Regions from separate parts of the Homo sapiens genome. Here region 1 is linked to region 2. Evidence: promoter capture Hi-C in 16 types of primary human blood cells and fetal thymus (Javierre and others, 2016). All regions are on one chromosome and are shown on one strand. Each heading gives the region's core, a stretch centred on a gene start or on the middle of the fragment in contact. The rest is flanking DNA. Distances are from core to core; before and after follow the strand shown. Region 1 overlaps GATAD2B (GATA zinc finger domain containing 2B). Region 2 holds the start of NUP210L (nucleoporin 210 like).

What was found. The method cuts DNA at HindIII sites, captures the fragments that hold promoters and counts their contacts. A CHiCAGO score of 5 or more calls a contact.
Region 1: a fragment that was not itself captured here is called in contact with the fragment with the promoter of NUP210L in region 2 in 1 of 17 cell types (M1 macrophages); the score reaches 5.7 in M1 macrophages.

What each region holds. Positions count from the first base shown.
Region 1 is chr1:153,814,852-153,819,383 of GRCh38, forward strand. GATAD2B (GATA zinc finger domain containing 2B) reads right to left here. Exons shown (of 11, transcript NM_020699.4): 4 at 3,940-4,071; 5 at 3,189-3,320; 6 at 2,521-2,691; 7 at 1,422-1,737. Among named protein-coding and RNA genes, the nearest start is that of SLC27A3, 42 kb to the left of the region's middle. The HindIII fragment of the contact is 887 bases long and covers 2,357-3,243 here.
Region 2 is chr1:154,152,150-154,156,828 of GRCh38, forward strand. It overlaps NUP210L (nucleoporin 210 like), which reads right to left and starts at 2,924. Exons shown (of 40, transcript NM_207308.3): 1 at 2,693-2,924; 2 at 587-723. The coding sequence starts at 2,895. It also overlaps a transcript of TPM3 not described here. RefSeq lists enhancers at 2,257-2,757, 2,758-3,258 and a silencer at 3,865-4,042. The HindIII fragment of the contact is 10,459 bases long and covers 1-4,679 here.

The sequences.
Region 1 (4,532 bases), core at 1,550-4,049, 340 kb before region 2:
TGTAATCCCAGCTACTCAGGAGGCTGAGGCAGGAATATTGCTTGAACCCAGGAGGTGGAGGTTGCAGTGAGCTGAGATCATGCCATTGCACTCTCTAGCCTGGGCAACAGAGCAAGATTCCATCTCAAAAAAAAAAAAAGAATTGCTTGAAACCAAGAGGCAGAGGTAGTCAGCCAGCTAAGATCATGCCACTGTACTCCAGCCTGGGTGACAGAGTAAGACTCTGTCTCAAAAAAAAAAAAAAAAAAAAAAAAAAAAAAACCAACAAAGAAAAAAACTGGCATGGTGGTGCATACCAGTGGTCCCAGTTACTCAGGAGGCTGAAATGGGAGGATGGCTTGAGCCTGGGAGGTCAAGGCTGCAGAGAGCTGAGATCACACCACTGCACTCAAGCCTGGACAACAGGGTCAGACCCTGTCTCAAAAAAACAAAAAAAAAAAACAAAAAAAAAAAAAAGAAAAGAGAAGTTCTATTTATCAAATTATGCAAGCATCATGCTAGCCACCATTTAAAAGAACTAAACAAAATACAGTCAGTCCTCAATGTTGTTGACAGGTTCTCAGAGACTATGATTTAAGTGAAACAACATACAACAAAAACAATCTTTTTTTTTTTACTAATGTTATAATAAAATGATGTTATTTGAGGACCCCCTTCACCGTAGTTGTTTCACTTAAAGTCACAGTTTCTAAGAAACTATTGATGATGTTAAGTGAGAACTTACTGTCCTACAAAAAACACACAAGATAGATAAAATCCAAATAAAAATATCAAGCCTCAATGATAGCTGACCTGCTGAAGGGAAAAAAAAACAAGCCGAAAGATAGATGATAGATTAGATAGAATAGAATAGATAGATTAGATAGATGATAGATTAGATAGATAGATAGATACATAGGCAGGCTGGCCCCGGCCGGCTGACGGGGTACAGTGGCTCATGCCTGTAATCCTAGCACTTTAGGAAGCCGAGGTGGGCAGATCACCTGATGTCAGGAGTTCGAGACCAGCCTGGCCAACATGATGAAACCCCGTCTCTACTAAAAATACAAAAATTAACCGGGTGTGGTGCCACGTGCCTGTAGTCCCAGCTACGTGGGAGGCTGAGGCAGGAGAATTGCTTGAACTCAGGAGGCAGAGGTTGCAGTGAACTGAGATTGTGCCACTGCACTCCAGCCTGGGCAACAGAGCGAGACTGCATCTCAAACAAAACACACACACACACACACACACACACACACACACACACACACTCCGCTTCTAACATGTTGCTCCCAAACAGCTGTAAAGAAGGGAGGGAGGTGGTTTGGTAACAGGAAGGAGAAGTTATTTAATATTGTACAGTACCCTCTGATACTCTGCCTATGTCAATCAGGCTTGGCAACCACTTGCTTAAATAGATTGATTAGAAGAAACAGCCTTACCTTGGCTGTCAATGACACTCTGTACGACTTCTTCCAAGCCTACCATGTAGATGAACTCGCTATTGGCTGCACTAGGCAAGAAATGAAGTAAGGGAGCAGGAGGTTTAGGGGGTGGGATCTCCAGGAGTGTCTTTTCCAGCTGTTTGCGAAGAGCCAATTTGGCTGCAGCCTGTGAGTTGGCAGCATCAGTCATGGCGCTGGGGCTAGGAAGTGGCGAGGACACTCTGTTCACCGTCCCTGGCTGGATATGAGAAGCAAGGTTCATATAGATGGCAGAGGATGTTGTACGCTGACATGGAACAGAAGAACTTGACTGCTGAAATAGATTGAGAATGCGGTCAATCATGGTATGCAGGAGAAAGGGCCAATTCTTACGTTCTTGGCAGAGGACACTGTCTGATCCTGGTTTGGACTACTTAGCTTCTCCAAAAATAGGAGGTGGTCAACTTATTTATTGAAAAAGAACTCTGACACATAGGAAAGGAGAATGATGATGACCATGAGCTAACATTGCTAAGAGAGAAATAAAGGCCACGCGTGGTGGCTCACGCCTATAATCTCAGCACTTTGGGAGGCCGAGGTAGGCAGATCACTTGAGGTGAGGAGTTTGAGACCAGCCTGGCCAACATGGTCAAACTCTGTCTCTACGAAAAATACACAAAATTAGCTGGAAATTCCTTGAACCCAGGAGGCAGAGGTTGCAGTGAGCCAAGATCATGCCACTGCACTCTAGCCTGGGCAACACAGTGAGATTCCAGCTCAAAAAACAAACAAACAAACAAACAAAAAAGAGACAGAAATAAGATTTTGCTTTCTGTCACACATCCTTGTGCTTCTTATTCCCTAGATCACTCTCTTCTAGGCAGATTTTTAGCTTACTGCTGCTCTGCTGTATAACCTCTCTCCTCCACTACTATTTTAATATAATTCCTCAAAGCTTCTACTTTTGGGACTGCTCTCAATTAAATCCCTACCAAAATAACCATTTTTGTCCTAGAGTTTATCTATGTATAAAAACTTAAAACCTATGGCCCTTTCGACAAGCAAAGCAAACAAAGGGATTTCTCTGTTTCCACATTAGGGCTCAGCTCTCTCTTACCGGTTGATAATTGATGGCGGGATTCATGTTGGGTGTTGTGGTGCGTACAAGGCCAGGCTTAGGCGGGCCCCGCTGACCCTGTAGCTGGGCTGGGTTTGGTGCAATAACACGTTGAGACATCAACATGTGTGGAAGGGTGGTATTGGTAGCTGAACGGATGACACTGTGACCCTGGAGGGGAAGAAGAGGAAAAGAACTAATCACAGGTTGTACGCTGTGTATAATACAGCACAAAATGCAAAAGGGAAAACACTGCCTATAATACATAGCTAAGTAGAAACACAGGAACACAGCCAGACTTGGTAATTTCATTTAATGGTCTATGGGATAAATCTACCATCATTGTAAACCCTGATTAGTGGCTGGGAAGTCCTTGGCTTTTTTTGGTATAAACTATCTAATCCTATAGGGTTAGATAGAAAACTATCTACCCCTTCTCTAGAGAAGCTGGAAGCATTCTCTAGACAAGAAAAACTACAGTGGAAACATGAAAGTTACTCATCCTTCTACTGAAGACTAAATCATGCCATAATGGGCCAACAGAACAATCAGTAGTAATAACACCTCTATCATGGCCAGGTTCTTCTATAATCTTCACAAAAGCCCAAAAACAGAGACAGGATTAGACACGGCCCTCCAACACTAAGATCCCACTATGGGTCACATACCTGTAATGTTCTCAAATTTTGAGGTTCAACCCCTTGGGCCCCAGGCCGAGAGGGAAGCTTAGATAGGCCCTGCTGTCCCACATGGGCAGGAGATGGCTGAACAATAGATGCTGCATTCTGTACAACTGGAGTCTGGGAGAGGGAAGAGAAAATAAGACTGTGGCCAATAATCACAGGTGGAAATTTGGTACATTTCTAGACTTTAAAAATTCCTGGTCAGTGTGAGGTTCTTGTCAATCAGGAGGAAAAACCAGAAAAAGGGAGTCAAGGTTTTCTTTTTTTTTTTTTTTTTTGAGACAGAGTCTTGCTCTGTCGCCCAGGCTGGAGTGCAGTGGCCTGATCTCGGCTCACTGCAAGCTCCACCTCCCGGGTTCACGCCATTCTCCTGCCTCAGCCTCCCGAGTAGCTGGGACTACAGGCGCCCGCCACCATGACCGGCTAATTTTTTGTATTTTTAGTAGAGATGGGGTTTCACCATGTTAGCCAGGATGCTCTCGATCTCCTGACCTCGTGATCCACCCGCCTCGGCCTCCCAAAGTGCTGGAGTTACAGGCGTGAGCCACCGCACCTGGCTGGGAGTCAAGGTTTTCTTAAGGCCTAAGATTAAAAAAAAAATCACTACTACTACAGACTAAAAAACTACGGACCCAGAGAAGAAATGAGCCACCCAACTGAACCTACCTGGGGGAACCTACTCTCAAACCAGTTTTTCTTTCCTTTCCCTTAGTCCCTTATTTCTAGGGCACATTACCTTCTGGACCACATTCTCTTTCTGTAGCTGACTCTGTCTCAGTTTCTTTAACAGGACCAGTCGGGCTTCTTCCAATCGTAGCTCATCCCTCAGCTGCTTGATAAGCTGCTGCCGCTCCTCAATGCCTTTCCCCTAAGGAAACAAGAAGACTTTCAGCTATGGCAGCAAGGTACCCAGAATTCCTTCCTGCAAGAGACAATCTTTACTTCTTAGCTCTGAAACCTTCATCTTCCACAAGAAGCAGAAGTGGCAATAGGATTATCTTTGTATCACTGGAGTCTGGCACAGTGCCTGGCATTCAGTAGGTACTCAAAGAAATGCTTACAGAATTAAAGGACAGACCACGTATAAATGCTAATCAGCCAGATTCCTGGCAAAAAGAAGAATGACTAAAGAGAAACATTGTCTTCTTTTAAAATAATGTTCCTAAATCTCTTAAAGCCACATTTCCTCTAGATATACATAAAAACTTAGGAATCCCTTCATATTCAGTTACTTAGGTTAGAGTGCAGAAAGTATCCTTACAGCCAAGAGTTTACTTTATATGACTTAATTATGAACTTTTGTTTTCATTTTCCAAAGATAAATAACAC
Region 2 (4,679 bases), core at 1,674-4,173:
CATTTTTATTTTATTTTATTTTATTTTATTTTGTTTTATTGAGATGGAGACTCCCTCTGTCGCCCCGCTGGAGTGCAGTGGCACAATCTTGGCTCACTGCAACCTGTGTCTCCCGGGTTCAAGCGATTCTCCTGCCTCAGCCTCCCTGAGTAGCTGGGACTACAGGTGTGCGCCACCACGCCCGGCTAATTTTTTTGTATTTTTAGTAGAGACGAGGTTTTACCATGTTGGCCAGGCTGGTCTCAAATTCCCCACCTCAGGTGATCCACCCACCTCGGCCTCCCAAAGTGGGGGGATTACAGGCGCGAGCCACCGCCCCCAGCCATAATTTTTTTTTTTTTTTTGTAGAGATAGGTCTCACTCTGTTACCCAGACTGTTCTTAAACTCCTGAGCTCAAGCAATCTTTCTGCCTCAGCCTCCCAAAGTGCTGGGATTAAAGGCGTGAGCCACTGCAGCCAGCTAGGAATCATTTATTCTCCCTTTGATCATTTGAAGCCAACACCATTTGTGTTAACTATCTATACAAAATACCAGATTATTCTACCCCAGAAGAAGTGATACATAGTGTTTTTGCTCTCAACATACCTATTTCTCGAGCAAGAATAATACTGCTGAGGCGTATCGGTTGCGTAGATTCAGCAATGAGTACAGCTTTTTGGGAACACAAGGTGCCATTTTCATATAAAGGCTCAACAGTAACTGCATCATGATGGGTGGAATGCCTGCCAGAACAAAATTCTTAAGAGTGTGAAATAGGTGGGTTAAAATTAACTTTTAGTGGAACATAGATTCTCACACTTCTTCCATGTTACATACTACCAGGTATATGTAAATGACACTTTTTAAAGAAGGAACATTGCTTAGGGATGCGATAATTAAACTGAGAGATTGATGAGAACTTTCCCAATGATCCCTTGAACAAAGTCCCAGAAATATCCCTCCCTCAATTTTTTTTAAAAGATTTTTATATTCTTCCCTCAGTATGCAGAAATACGACTGATGTGTTTCTAGTAATGAGAGGGGACTTTCTCATACTCTGAGGAAAGTTTCCTTCAATCCTAGAAACCAGGCTTCTGATATCTAGGATGGAAAAGGTGCCTAAATTATGAGGTGTGAGTCCAACTCAAAATACCAAAAACATTCATAAATATTTTTATTCTTATTTATTATTATGTTTTTGAGACCGAGTCACTTTGTTGCCCAAGCTGAAGTGCAGCAGGGCGATCTCAGCTCACTGCAACATTCGCCTCCAGGGTTCAAGCGATTCTCCTGCCTCAGCCTCTCGAGTAGCTGAGATTACAGGTGTCTGCCACTATGCCCGACTAATTTTTGTATTTTTAGTAGGGATGGGCTTTCATCATGTTGGCCAGGCTGGTCTTGAACTCCTGACTTCAAGTGATCTGCCTGCCCCGGCCTCCCAAAGTGCTGGGATTACAGGCGTGAGCCACTGCGCCCGGCCGAATGTTTTTATTTTAAATAGAGACGGGGTCTCACTATGTTGATCCGGCTGGTCTCAAACTCCTGGCCTCAAGTAATCCTCCTGCCTTGGCCTCCCAAAGTGCTGGGATTACAGGCGTGAGCCACCATGCCTGGCCTCATTAATATTTTTGGAGTGATAGAAGAAATGGCTTTCAATGCTGGAAAGATGCCTTGCATCACCCTCACGGTCAGGAAACACACACGTCACACTGGATCATCTTACAAGCTCACTTTCCTTATACTTCCTCATAAAATGAGAGGTGAATTTATACTCGGAACAAACCTCATTGCTTCTCCTAGGAGATGGCAAAGGGGTATCTACTCCATCTAGGATGAATGCACTGGCATCCTGAAGCTCACTTCGGTTAGGTTCTCTCATACCTTAGGCAACCACATAACCCATCATTGGGTCCTCTCACACCAGAAAATCATGTCTCTTCATCTTCAGTCAGGAAGTCATTATCCCGGAGTTGTGTGTACCCCCTGTCCTCACACTTCAAGCGGGTACCCTTTTATAAATGGGGCAATTTTGATAATACAGACAGATCTCATCTCCACCCACGATAAATCTTCTCATATTCCCAGAAGTTTACACTTCATAGTCTCTGGGCCTCACTTTCCTCGTCTGTGAAATGGGAGTAATAGTACTTACTTCATAAGACTGCAAAAAGCGAATGAGTTAACACATGTAAAGTGCTTAGTTAACCCCCAATACTTGGCTGTTGTGTTTTAAGTCCTTCTCACATTGAATAGCTCATCTATAGTTAGTGGGGACCCTCGCACCCCAAGTTTTCCTGTTCCTACAGAAATTTCCTCAGATATGGGGAACTTCCTCTTACTCTAGTTGTTTACATTGGAAGTCATCAGTACCTGTGGCCTCCAACACAGGGCTTCCCTTTACCCTGACGGCTGCTCATAGTGACCACCCCTTCCCAACACACACAGAGAAGAGGCCAGTCCCACATCCCGAGAATTCCTCACACGTCTGGAAGATTGTCACACAGCTGGAGGATATACCACATGAGTAGGACACGCCACACCCAAGGGTCTGCTCCTCGCCACCTTCACTGACACCACACTCTCCTCCCCTACCGGCTAGGCCCCTTCACGCGGCCCCACACGGTATTCCTGTGGGATCTTACAGAGGGAACCCCCCTCACCCTTACTGGATGGTAGTGAGGGTGCATATCCTTGTCACCCACCACCCCTCACCAAGTGTAGCAGCCCCGCTGGGCCTCCAGCAGGAAAGGCACCCGGCCTGGCTCTCGGCCGAAGGGTAGCAACACCTGTGGCACGTTAAGTTTGTTGGCCAGGGTCCCACGCAAAACCAGAAACAACAACAGGAGGCGGTGTAGACGCAAGAAGAAAAAGAGCCCGAAGCCTCGGCGTCTTGATGACGCCGGACAGCCAGTCATGGCGACTGCCAGGTCTCGGGTTCCCGCTCAACTACAGCCGGCTCACAGCTCCATCAGCCAATCCACAGGCGTGACGTCAGCAGAGGGGGATGGGACCTGCTTCTTGCTCGGATGTGTGGGCATTTTTAAATGCAGTCCTTCAGCAAGCCAATATAATGGAAACTTTTGGCACAAACCCAGCTAAAACACCTCAAACTCTCTTAAAGGGCTTTCCTAAATACTGGATGGCAGACCTTTTTAACAGTAAGGAACAAGCAGAAAAGTCTAAAAAAAACCCTTTAATTTCTTCCAGTTTTAATTTCTTCTGTTGCACACTGTTTATCTTAACACCACACCCTCCGCCCGACAAAAAAACTTTTTGCAATGATTTCCAGTTAGCATTGGTCCATGCCTATCAACGGAAAATTGTGCAGTCTCTGGGATAAACAGCTCGACTTTGTCAAGGGAACCGTGTATTTTTACTAGAAGTCAGATTCACGTCCGGCCTCCAGGCCAGAATGCAGGAAATGCCAGACACTGGCGTCTCAAAAGCAGCTTTCAAAGTTATCCACTCACACAGCCGGCCTCTAAGCAAATACTCTTGAGAGCACTTGTTGTTTTCTCCAAATATCCAAACAGAATATAAACTCAAAGCTGTTTCAGTACAGTTGGTTAAAACCACGCATTTATAGTAGTGATCAGCATTATATATTGTTTTAAGGAGCATAAATCCATAGTTTATAAGGATTGATATGGTTGTGAAGGAAAATGTATATAGTTCAGCCTGAGATGTCAGTGTTAACCTATAAAAGGCCCAGCACATTAAGTGTTCTTTCTAATCTTCATGTTTACTCTGACAATACTTATCTCCATTTTACAGATGATAAAACTAAACATTTGCTCTATATTAAATCCTGTTGCTCCAGCTGGGTGCGGTGGCTCACGCCCGTAATCCCAGCATTTTGGGAAGCTGAGGCAGGTGGATCACCTGAAGGTCAGGAGTTCGAGACCAGCCTGGCCAACATGGTGAAGCCCTGTCTCTACTTAAAATATAAAAAATTACCCGGGCATGGTGGCAGGTGCCTGTAATCCCAGCTACTCGGGAGGCTGAGGCAGGAGAATCTCTTGAACCAGGAGGCGGAGGTTGCAGTGAGCCGAGATCGAGCCATTACGCTCCAGCCCAGGCAACAAGAATGAAACTTCATCTCAAAAATAATAATAATAAAGAATAAATCCTGTTGCTACCACCCACAAAGATGCTATTTTTAACCCAAACCTCATAGCTTCTGTGGAGAAAGCACATTTAGTTTTAATAAATAAAAGTCAAATAGGTCTGAGGGTTGGAGGGACTGGTTCTTTATTTCAAAAAGACACTTGTCAATATTCAGTATCAAAACAGTTGCACTATTGATTTCTCTTTCTCCCAATCGGCCCCAAAGAGACCACATAAAAGGAGAGTACATTTTAAGCCAATAAGCTGCAGGATGTACACCTAACAGACCTCCTAGAAACCTTACCAGAAAATGGGGACTGGGTAGGGAAGGAAACTTAAAAGATCAACAAACTGCCAGCCCACGGACTGCAGAGGCTGTCACAGCCAGATGGGGTGGCCAGGGTGCCACAAACCCAAAGCAAAGTTTCAAAATAATATAAAATTTAAAAAGTTTTGTACATAAGCTATTCAAGATTTCTCCAGCACTGACTGATACAAAGCACAATTGAGATGGCACTTCTAGAGACAGCAGCTTCAAACCCAGAAAAGGGTAATGAGATGAGTTTCACATGGCTAAATCAGTGGCAAAAAC